Linked DNA regions of Homo sapiens: region 1 is linked to region 2. Evidence: promoter capture Hi-C in 16 types of primary human blood cells and fetal thymus (Javierre and others, 2016). All regions are on one chromosome and are shown on one strand. Each heading gives the region's core, a stretch centred on a gene start or on the middle of the fragment in contact. The rest is flanking DNA. Distances are from core to core; before and after follow the strand shown. Region 1 has its middle 150 kb from the start of LINC02550. Region 2 holds the start of ARHGAP20 (Rho GTPase activating protein 20).

Evidence for each region. The method cuts DNA at HindIII sites, captures the fragments that hold promoters and counts their contacts. A CHiCAGO score of 5 or more calls a contact.
Region 1: a fragment that was not itself captured here is called in contact with the fragment with the promoter of ARHGAP20 in region 2 in 1 of 17 cell types (M1 macrophages); the score reaches 5.6 in M1 macrophages.

What each region holds. Positions count from the first base shown.
Region 1 is chr11:110,948,456-110,953,521 of GRCh38, forward strand. No RefSeq gene overlaps it. Among named protein-coding and RNA genes, the nearest start is that of LINC02550, 150 kb to the right of the region's middle. The HindIII fragment of the contact is 1,820 bases long and covers 667-2,486 here.
Region 2 is chr11:110,710,580-110,715,285 of GRCh38, forward strand. ARHGAP20 (Rho GTPase activating protein 20) reads right to left here and starts at 1,858. Exons shown (of 15, transcript NM_001384657.1): 1 at 1,548-1,858. The coding sequence starts at 1,652. RefSeq lists enhancers at 77-722, 1,705-2,206 and silencers at 1,730-1,789, 1,810-1,969. The HindIII fragment of the contact is 6,153 bases long and covers 1-3,538 here.

The DNA of each region.
Region 1 (5,066 bases), core at 327-2,826, 240 kb after region 2:
ACAGATAGTCCTTTGCTAGGCATTCTTTTGCTTGCCCTTTAAATATTGGTGTCTCTCAGAAGTCAATCCTTCCTTGACTTCTCTTTCTGAACATCCTGTCAAGGTAATTACATCTACTGCCATGCCCTTAAACTGCCACCCATATGCTACATCTGCCAAGTCTACGTCTTTGCCCCTAGTCTTTCTCTTGGGCTCTAGACCAAGAGACTTTTGGAAGTGTTTTCTAATCACTTCAGTATCTCTGTATTAGTCCATTTTCATGCTGCTAATAAAGACATACCCGAGACTGGGCAATTTACAAAGGAAAGAGGTTTCATTGGACTTACAGTTTCACACAGCTGGGGAAGCCTCTCAATCATGGTGGAAGGAAAAGAGGAGCAAGTCACATCTTACATGGATTGCAGCAGGCAAAGAGAGAGCTTGTGTAGGGAGACTCCCATTTTTCAAAACCATCAGATCTTGTGAGACTTATTCACTATCATGAGAACAGTATGGGAAAGACCTGCCCCCATGATTCAATTACCTCTTACTGGGTCCCTCCCACAACACATGGGAATTCAAGATGAGATTTGGGTGGAGATACAGCCAAACCATACCAGTCTCTTAAATTGAGCATTATCTTCTTGCTAAGACCTACTTTACTCTTGAATTTCCTACCTCTCTTAAAGCTTCCTTCCTTCCTTTCTTCCTTCCTTCCCTCCCTCTTTCCTTCTTTCCTCCATGAAGCATTAATTGAATACTTGCTATTTTCTAGAGACCACATTAAATGACCTTTTGCCTTTGAGGAGCTCATACTATAGTGGAACAATTAGATGAGTTCAATAATTAATTTCCATTCATTTAAAAGCTGTTTCTGAAATAACTATGTATAAAATAAGTATCCATAAAACACTGAGATAAATAGAGGTAGTCAAACAGTAGGCTCAAGAAAGACCTCCTTGGTTAAATGTAATCAGAGCTGAGTCTTTAATATTGAGGAATTAATTGGACAAAGAAGAGAAGACATAAGAAATAGTGTTTGAATAGGACACAAAGAAGAGTGAGCAAGTAATTTTTGAAAAAGAATGCTCATAATAACAAAAGTAATGGCTAACATTTATTTAGCCTTCACTATATACCAGTTACTAAGATAAGCACCTCACATGTTTGCTTTTAATCTGATACTCAGTATAACCTCAGAAATAGGTAGCAGTAGCTTACCCATTGTGTAGTTCGTAATATTGAAGTCCAGATGAAAACACTTGCCCTTGAACTTTTGTGAATAAGTAGTTGAGCTGGAAACCTAAGTTTCTCTGGCTCCAGAGCCTGGATAATGGAGAGGTGCAATAAAGAAGGTTAGGGCAGTAAGCAGAAGCAGGATTCTAGAGGGTCTTACATGCCTTAGGAAAGGGATTGAGTTTTATCTGGAAAGAAATGAGGAGCTACTCCAGGCCTCTAAGCAGAGAAGTTACCTGAGGCAAATCTCCATTTAGCAAGGTCACTTATGGCAAGGAGTCCAGGATGAATTGGGGGTTGAGAGGCAAGACTGGAAGCAGATGGCTCCATTAGAAAGCTACTGTCAGCCGGGCGCGGTGACTCAGGCCTGTAATCTTCACACTTTTGGAGGCCGAGGCAGATGGATCACCTAAGGTCAGGAGTTCCAGACCAGCCTGGCCAACATGGCAAAACCCTGTCTCTACTAAAAATACAGAAATTAGCTGGGCATGGCGGTGCACTCTTGTAATCCCAGCTACTCGGGAGGCTGAGGCAAGAGAATCACTTGAACCCAGGGGGCGGAGTTTGCAGTGAGCTGAGATTGCACCACTTCACTCCAGCCTGGGTGAAACAGTGAAACTCCATCTCAAAAAATAATAAATAAAAGAAGGCTACTGTCATAGTCCAGGTGAGCTTCATGAGCCCTGGAGAAAGAGGCAGAATGGAATGACTCTGTTACACTTGGGATGTCAAGGGAAAGGGTGGGTCAAGAACAGTGCTGAGGATTTAAGAAAGTCAATTCACTTTTTTAAAAAAATATCACTCATTTCATAATTCAGTCAACAAACATTAAGTGTCTGCCTTGTGCTAGGACCATACTAGGTTCTGGGGATAAAACTGACCAACAACATATAGTCCATGGTCTCAAGGAGCCAATACTCTAATGATGGAGCTAAATAAAAATCATCACAGGTAATAACTGTGAGAGAAACGTACAAGTACATCATACTGGGCTTGGGGAGGCTGAACCACAAGTAGGCTCCCTGAAGGAGGGAATGTTCCTGATTCTTCTCTTGATTGGTAGTCTCACATTTCTAATGATCAACTGGTCACCTATGCTGGCTGTTCCTCAGACATTTCTAATCTATGTCCAGAATTAAAATTGAACCCATGCTCTCACCTCCAACATACATTCCTCCTCTCAGGTATCATATTTCATGTCCCGATCAAATTATTCATAAAATAAATATATTCTTTGAGCATCCATAAAGTGCCAGGTATTGTATCAAGCAAGCTTAGATAATTCCAAATGCAAATTAATATTTTCACTTTGATTTTAAAATAAAAAAACAGAGGTCATGGGCATCTGAATTATGTTTTCTGAGACAACATCACAAAACTTAATCTAAGTATTATTAAGAACACTAGCTTTCACATGTTTGCATTTTTTAGCACCTGTAAAAATTATTGTCCTCCCTGGAATAAAATGGATGAACAGGGCTCTAAAGCATGTTTTACTAGTTGGAAAGCAGAAACACCAGTCTCCTGCTGCAGGGCAAAGTCCACTGTGAGGTGAGAGTGACATTGTTCACCCCTTAAGATCTAGCTCCAAATGGAGGAAGCAGGCAGGGGGTGTCAGACGGGCCCCATGCTTCTGCCACCATTCAGCCTGGCCGGACAGTGTATGATTAGAACAGCTTGTGATGTCCTCGTGATAAAGACTGAGATATTTAATGGAACATTTCTACTGAGCACAGCTGGGGATCTTTCACACAGATCTACCCTCCTCCAAGGCTGTTCAATCTTTGTGTAAAGGCACAATTCTCAGCAGAATCTGTGTGATTAACCAAAGAGGGGAAAAGTGGAGGTAAAGAAGATTCTAGGGACAATACAGGAAGGCCCAGAGAGGGGTGTCTCCCACAGAACTGACCACAGAGACTTGTTCCTAATATGCGGTCCATAAATGCTCACTGAATGAATGAAAGTGAATGCATGGAGGGAGGGTGGCAGGAAGGCTGTTCAAAAGCTCTGGGCTGGAGGGACGTGGCAGAACCCATTACAGCTTTTCAATAAGGTGGTTTCAATTACACACCTCTTTCTTTGACTCACTGGTACTTTATGCCTGAAGTACTAGGGAAGGGGAAGAACAGAGGCTGAAATGTCACAATTGGCCCTAGTAGATTCTGAGATAAGTGCTCTGGGGGACTTTTGCCAAATTTGCACTCCATGAGACACCATGAGAGAGGTCTGAGCAGCTGCAGATTTCTATAGAGAGTTCCTGTCACTGAGCTAAACTGTGGAGCTCATATTTCCAGTGCTGTAGCAAAGGAAAGAGGTGACTGGGAGGCAATTTCCAAACATAAGATCCCATACAGATGTTTCTAAACAGTGCTCCCCAAATCCCAAGACCCCAAGGGAAAACCCTGGCTGCTATAACCCAAGTGCCTTTTTAAGGCCCACGGTGTACAATAGGCCTTGAAAAGTCAGTACCAGTACACTGAAAGCTCATGCCCCAGTTAACAGAAAGAACCTCATTTCCACATCTATTGAGATATGTCATCTGTGTCAGACTCATTTAACCAATGAATTAATCCCAACTGGAAACATTTACTGAGCTTCCAACATTGACAAATTTTTGTTTCTCTTCAGTCCTTGGTTGAGTCTGCAGCCAAAAGTCAAAGCACAAACTTGCCTTTAGAAAGTGAGTTCTTGATTCTAAAGCTCATTCTGAAAGAGAAAGCACTTTTCTCTCATGAGCGATCTTGTTCTCACAAGTTAGATAATTTAGATAAGTCTCTGGGGTTTGGAAAAGCCTGGAGAACACTCCGCAGTCCAGGGCCATTGAACAAACGGAACTGTTTAACCTTGTAAAAGTTTGCACAATTCTCACCATAAATATGGTCAGAAAATGGGAGCTTAATTTTCAGATGCAAAGGTTCTAGGCTGCGGGCCCAGAGCCCAGACACCCTTGTGGGAATGGTGGTTACAATAGGCTCGGAGGTATAAGCAGGCCCTGGAAAACATTCCAGTTGGAAAGACATGAGTACTGATGCGGAGGTCACAACTAGAGCTTACAACTGAAACAAATGAAGGAAACATAACCATCTCAATCTCATGGATGTCTCTGAGGCCACTGGTCACTGCACTGCTCCAGGTTGCCTGTGTAATCATTGCGCATGAAGTGCAGGCCCCGCCATTTCCTCCTGGCCTGTCTTGCTGGACTCCTAGACCAGCTTTTCACAAAGGGTGTTTTTGCTGCTACTATTCAACAAACAGTGCTGGGCAGAGGCTGAGAGGGTCAGAGCAGCTCCTGGGCCAACCAGGCCTGCAGGAAGGAGGAGGGTTATGTATGAGGTCTCAAGAATCCAGGTTCACATGCAGGTTTGATTCAGTTTCCATCCTCACAGCAGGACATTCTCCCGTGTTTTCTCTCCTTAGAAGTGATTTTGATTTCTCTCTTTTTAGTTTAACTGCTGTTATTTAGTTGATGCTACATTTGTTCTTACTGAAGTTTGATAGAATTATAATTCCTAACAGTATTTTCAGAATACAGTTTTGATGTAATTCTTATGAATATATTATTTACATTTCATTGGAATCATAAAGTTAGATAGCTTAAAAGTAGTGTATTCTGGCTGAAGGAAGAAGTCCATCCTTACTTAAACCATCACTGAAGGGTTGTGGTGGGGTCCGCCTCTCTCTGTTGGCTGAGCTGGTGCTTGGAGCACAGGCAGGCACAGCAAGGGCTTGGCTCCCAGGCCCAAAGTGAGAACTAGCTCACCGTGGCAATGGCTTTAGTGTCTCAGATGTGGGTAGAGACCCATTACAGCCACAGAGCCTGAGTCTGAAATGTGGGTACCTGTGGAGTGGCC
Region 2 (4,706 bases), core at 608-3,107:
TATTTGGGAAGACTTGACTACACACACACACACTCCCTCCATCTCCGAAGGGGAAAAGCGACAAGGACAAACCGCAGCCTCAATACATCAAAGGCTGAGCTGGCACTACAGCCCATACATCATCAAGTTCACGGACACCCCTAGATGGCTCCGTGACACGGTCAAGGTCCTTGGGAACTCCCACACATTTCTATACTCGGCACACCGATCACCTCTCTTCAACTGACCTCTAGCCAACCTAAGATCCTGGTGGGAAGATTTATGAAAGGCAGTAAAATCAAGACAAGCAGGGAACCTGCGTAACCCCTTTAAGTCTCTAATGAAACAAATGCAATCCCTTAAGATATTTCTTAAGGAAAAGCTAGAAGATGCCTCTAATCGCAACTTGTTTCCAGAAAAGCTGGAAGGGCACCACTAAGACAAGGCAAAAAAAAAAAAAAAGGCAAAATATCGGAAAGTCTTATGCTGGAAGCGGGGGTGGGGAGGCGGGGGACAGGCAGACAGGGCTAGAAACACCCAAATCAATTCCTCAGGGAGCGAAACGGCAGAGGCCGGCAGCCCGCGGCCCACGTGCACTTGCTCAGGGAACCGTTCCAGCGAAACCTGACCCGGATCGGAATCCTCCCGCAGCACAGCGGCCGTGTTTATCGGAATGGAACGCTACAAGTTGTCACCTGCATCCCTCTCCCAGCTTTGACAGGGAACACGCGCTGCCCCCACGCCCACACCGACACCCGGATCCCTATCCAGCCCGGCCAGAGTCCCAGGGGCCAGGGACCAGTGCAGGGAGAAGGTCCCCCACCTCAGCCCTCAGGACCCCCAACCACAGCCCACCCGCCCCCACCCTGCTCGGTTCTAGGCCCAGCCGAACCTACATGTCCCCGTAGTGTCGAGCGTTATCATCCACAGTCGCCCCTCAAACTGTGACCCCCACCTGGGAGACCCGGAATCATCCAGGACCCTGGTGTGGGGGGCAGTACTCCCCATATCTGCCCCCCGAAAACTGCTATGGAGCAGCCGCGCCTCGGCGGGCAGGTGAGGGGGCCGAGCCCACCAGCGCCGCAGCCCCGCTGCCTACCTTCTTCAGCGCCGGCTGCCGCTCCCGGGCAGACATCGCCGGCCCTGACTTTGGGGCTGACACCGCCAAAGGGCAGTCAGTGCTCGCCCAGGCCACTTCGGGAGGCCCAGGGGCACGGCGAGGGGTCGGGGAAAGGCGATCGCCCACTACAGCCCGCGCGCCTAGACTGAGGGAGGAGCCGGGCTGCAGAACCGGCGGCGGATGGAGACGGGAGGGAGGCTGCGAGGTCGCTCGAGGAGAGACTAAGGCTCTAGAAACGGAGAAGCGGGCGCTCTGCGGGAGGCGGCGGCGCTGCCGCTGGCCGTCAAGGGCGGGAAGTGTTCTGGGACTCTCATTAGGGGCCGCGAGCCTCGAGCGTCAAATTCCCGCGGCGTCCGCCTAGCGCGCTGCTGTGGCGGGCGCGGAGGGCGCGCGCCGGCAGTGGGGGCTGCGGCGGCGGAGGGCACGGGCCCCCGCTCAGCGTCCTCACCTTCTTGGTGCAGCTGCCTCCCGCGAGCCGAGACACTCCTGTCAGGGAAGAGGAGCGCCCCGGCTGTCCCCCTAGAGTCTCCTGCTGGGGGGACATCGCTTCCATGAAGAAAATCTTCAAACAAATCCCAGCCCAGGAGGAGGCTACACGATCATGTCCGCGGGCTGCCGGCCGGAGGGGCGAGGACGCGCGGGCGGAGGCGCGGCTGCCGTGCTCAGGCAGGGAGCCGAGCTCCGGGTGCTCGCCGCGCGCCTCCCGTCGGGGCCATGTACCTCCGCCTGCGCTCGACACCGCGGGCTGGAGGCGAGTGCAGCGGCGACAGCCCGTCAGCGCCGCGGCCCGCCCCGCCTCGGGCCCGCCCCCTCCGCTCCGGGCGCCCTGCGCCGGGGCCCGCCCCCGCAGCCCTCCTCAGCCCTCCTCCAGCCTGGGCCCTCCTAGCCTCGTCCCAGCCTGCGGCGCGCCTGGCGGGCGTCTCTCTATATATGTTAGCACACCGGCCACCGGCTGACCTTTTCGGTCTGTGACTCCGCGTGGGTGCAGCCCGCAGGAGCTCATCGGCCTGTGTCACGCACGGGGGCCTCTAGTGCACGGACACGCGCCTCTCCCGCCACCTGCCCACTCCCACCAGACCCCATCCCTTCCCGCGCCGTGCCCGCGGCGGAAGGCGCCCCTGCAGCGCGTGCATCCGCGGAGCGGTGGCGACCTCAGCCTGAGCAGAGGAGTTGCAGTGATTCCTGCCTCGCTTTCAGCGGACTGCGGAGGGAATCCCCCACCCCACCCCACTGGGGATAGGGTGGCACGTCGCAGAGTGTCGCAGCTGTACAAATTTGGAAGCCCACAGCATCGCCTGACCTCTTGTGCAATCCCGAACGCTAGCCTGTTCGGGTAACCCTGAGTGGGCTTCTGCAGCCGGTCATGTCAGCGGCCCCTGCACATTTGCACCCGCGGTTTCCGCTGTCTGCAGGCTGCAGAGACGGGGGCATTCCAAACGTGAAAGAGCAATGAAGGAAAATGCAGACAGAGCGAGGACGCCGAAATTTGGCTAAGCTATTGAGAAGGCTACAATATGTGGAAGTGTTTATCAGATATCTGCGCCGAGAGCATAACTTCCTGTCAGCCCAAATAGAGGCAAAAATATTTTAAAGGCCAAAGAATAATCAGAGGGAGAGGATTTGGAGCTGACCCGCGTTGAGCTGAGTGTTGCTGCACTTTGCGGGGCTGGTTGACTGGTACGGATGATTCGGTAGATGGCATTCTTCCCTTGGAGTCAGGACTAGAGAAGCAGTGGCGGATTAGTGAGGAAGGACACCACGCTATGATATTAGGTTGTGGAAGGGGTTTGGTTTGCTTTTGTGGTAAGAAGAAAAAAATCGAGGTTCCTGCCAGGTTAGGCTGTTATTAGGACAGGTTGTAGAAGAATAGGGCTCTGGCCGGCTCTGTTCCAAGGAAGGGATGCTGTCCAACACACACTCGCGCGCGCACACATCACCACCATGCCCAGGAATGGTTTATTGTGGAAATAATAGGGGGAAAATGTTCCAGCCCGTTTTAAGCCTTGTCCACCTCACACTGTTTAAAGTAGGCTTACATAGGCTTTATAAATCACACACACGTATAAATCACACACACGTATAAATCACATGTATGATTTGTAAATCATCTATTATTGTGTTTATGTATGTGTGCATATACACACACAGTTTTTCATGGCTACTCTCTTTTTGCAGCTGAGACCCATGTGCAGCGACAGGACTTTGCCCCCACCATAGAGTTTGTCATGAATTCTACACGCAGAGGGCTTTGCAGTTCCTTTCATTCCTTGCTGAAATCATCCACTTACAACTCGTTAGCCTCTTTTGGTTCCTATCATAAATGCACGCTCCCAATTTTCCTTACTCTGTTTTATTTCGATAACACTTATCTCCTTCTAATATATCATGTAATTTACTTAGTATGTTTAGTGTTTATTATCTATATCTCAGAGAAATGCAAGCTTCCAGAGGGCAGGAATCTTTTGTGGGCTTTTGTTGTTGTTGTTGTTATTGTTGTTCTTTGTCGTATACCAAGTGCTTGAAGCAGTGTCTGGTGCAATAAATGTTCGTTTGCTAAGGGAATTAATGAGGCATACAAGGGTTATGAGATAGATCTTAGAAGGGCCAGACTGGTAGAGTTGGTTGTTTCACTCAGAGTGTCCCATGTTTCTGTTTGTGATCTTCTTTTTTGCACAGGTTTGATCTGTGATCAATACTACATGTTCCAAATCAAAGTAGTATTTTACTGCAGATTTGGAAAACTCACTCTTACTTCTTAATTTTTAAGTGCTTTTACTTCAAAACCCATTAGTTTTGGTTTGCATAGAAAACTGTCCCATACCTAAAGAAAACTGACTTTGCTCAGATTAATGCTATCACCAGAATCGTGTTTTAAGAACACAAATTTGATCACATCACTCCCCTGATTAAACCCTTCTTTGGCTCCTTGTGTTTACAGAATAAATTTCAAATGCCATAGTATGATATGCAAGACTGCCTATAAACAGACATCCTTGCCTCCACTTATTTCTCTTGTCATTTATTGCTCCTCTTCAACTCTCACCCTATTCCCTGTCACATTGAATTCGCCAAGAAGTCACCTTCCAAGAACTCGCCTTGCCTTCTCACATCTTTGTGACTTTGAACCTGCTGTTTGCATTGCGTGGGAAGTTTTCCTTCTATATTTCCAACCCCTATTACTTTACACTTAAATATCTAATACTTGGTGCATAGTAAATGCCCAGTAAATATTTGTTGAGGAAATAAATCTCCCAGATTTGAATCAATAATTACCTTAGAAAAATCTTCCTGACTTTATTTCTCCTTATCTAGCTACCTCCACACACCAACCATACACATGGGGCATCCACTGTAGGTAACATTTATTGATTGCTTACTTAATGCCAGTGAGTACCTGTGGGTAACAGGTAACATTTATTGAGTGCTTACTTAATGCCAGACACTGTTCTAAGCATTTTACACACATTAATTTAGTTATATCTTTATAATCTATGAGGTAGCTTCTTTTACTACCCCATTTTATAGATGAGAAAACCAAGCCACAAGGATATTAAGTAATATGCTCAAACAGCTAGTAAGTAGTCTTGCTGAGCTTAGAACATGGGAA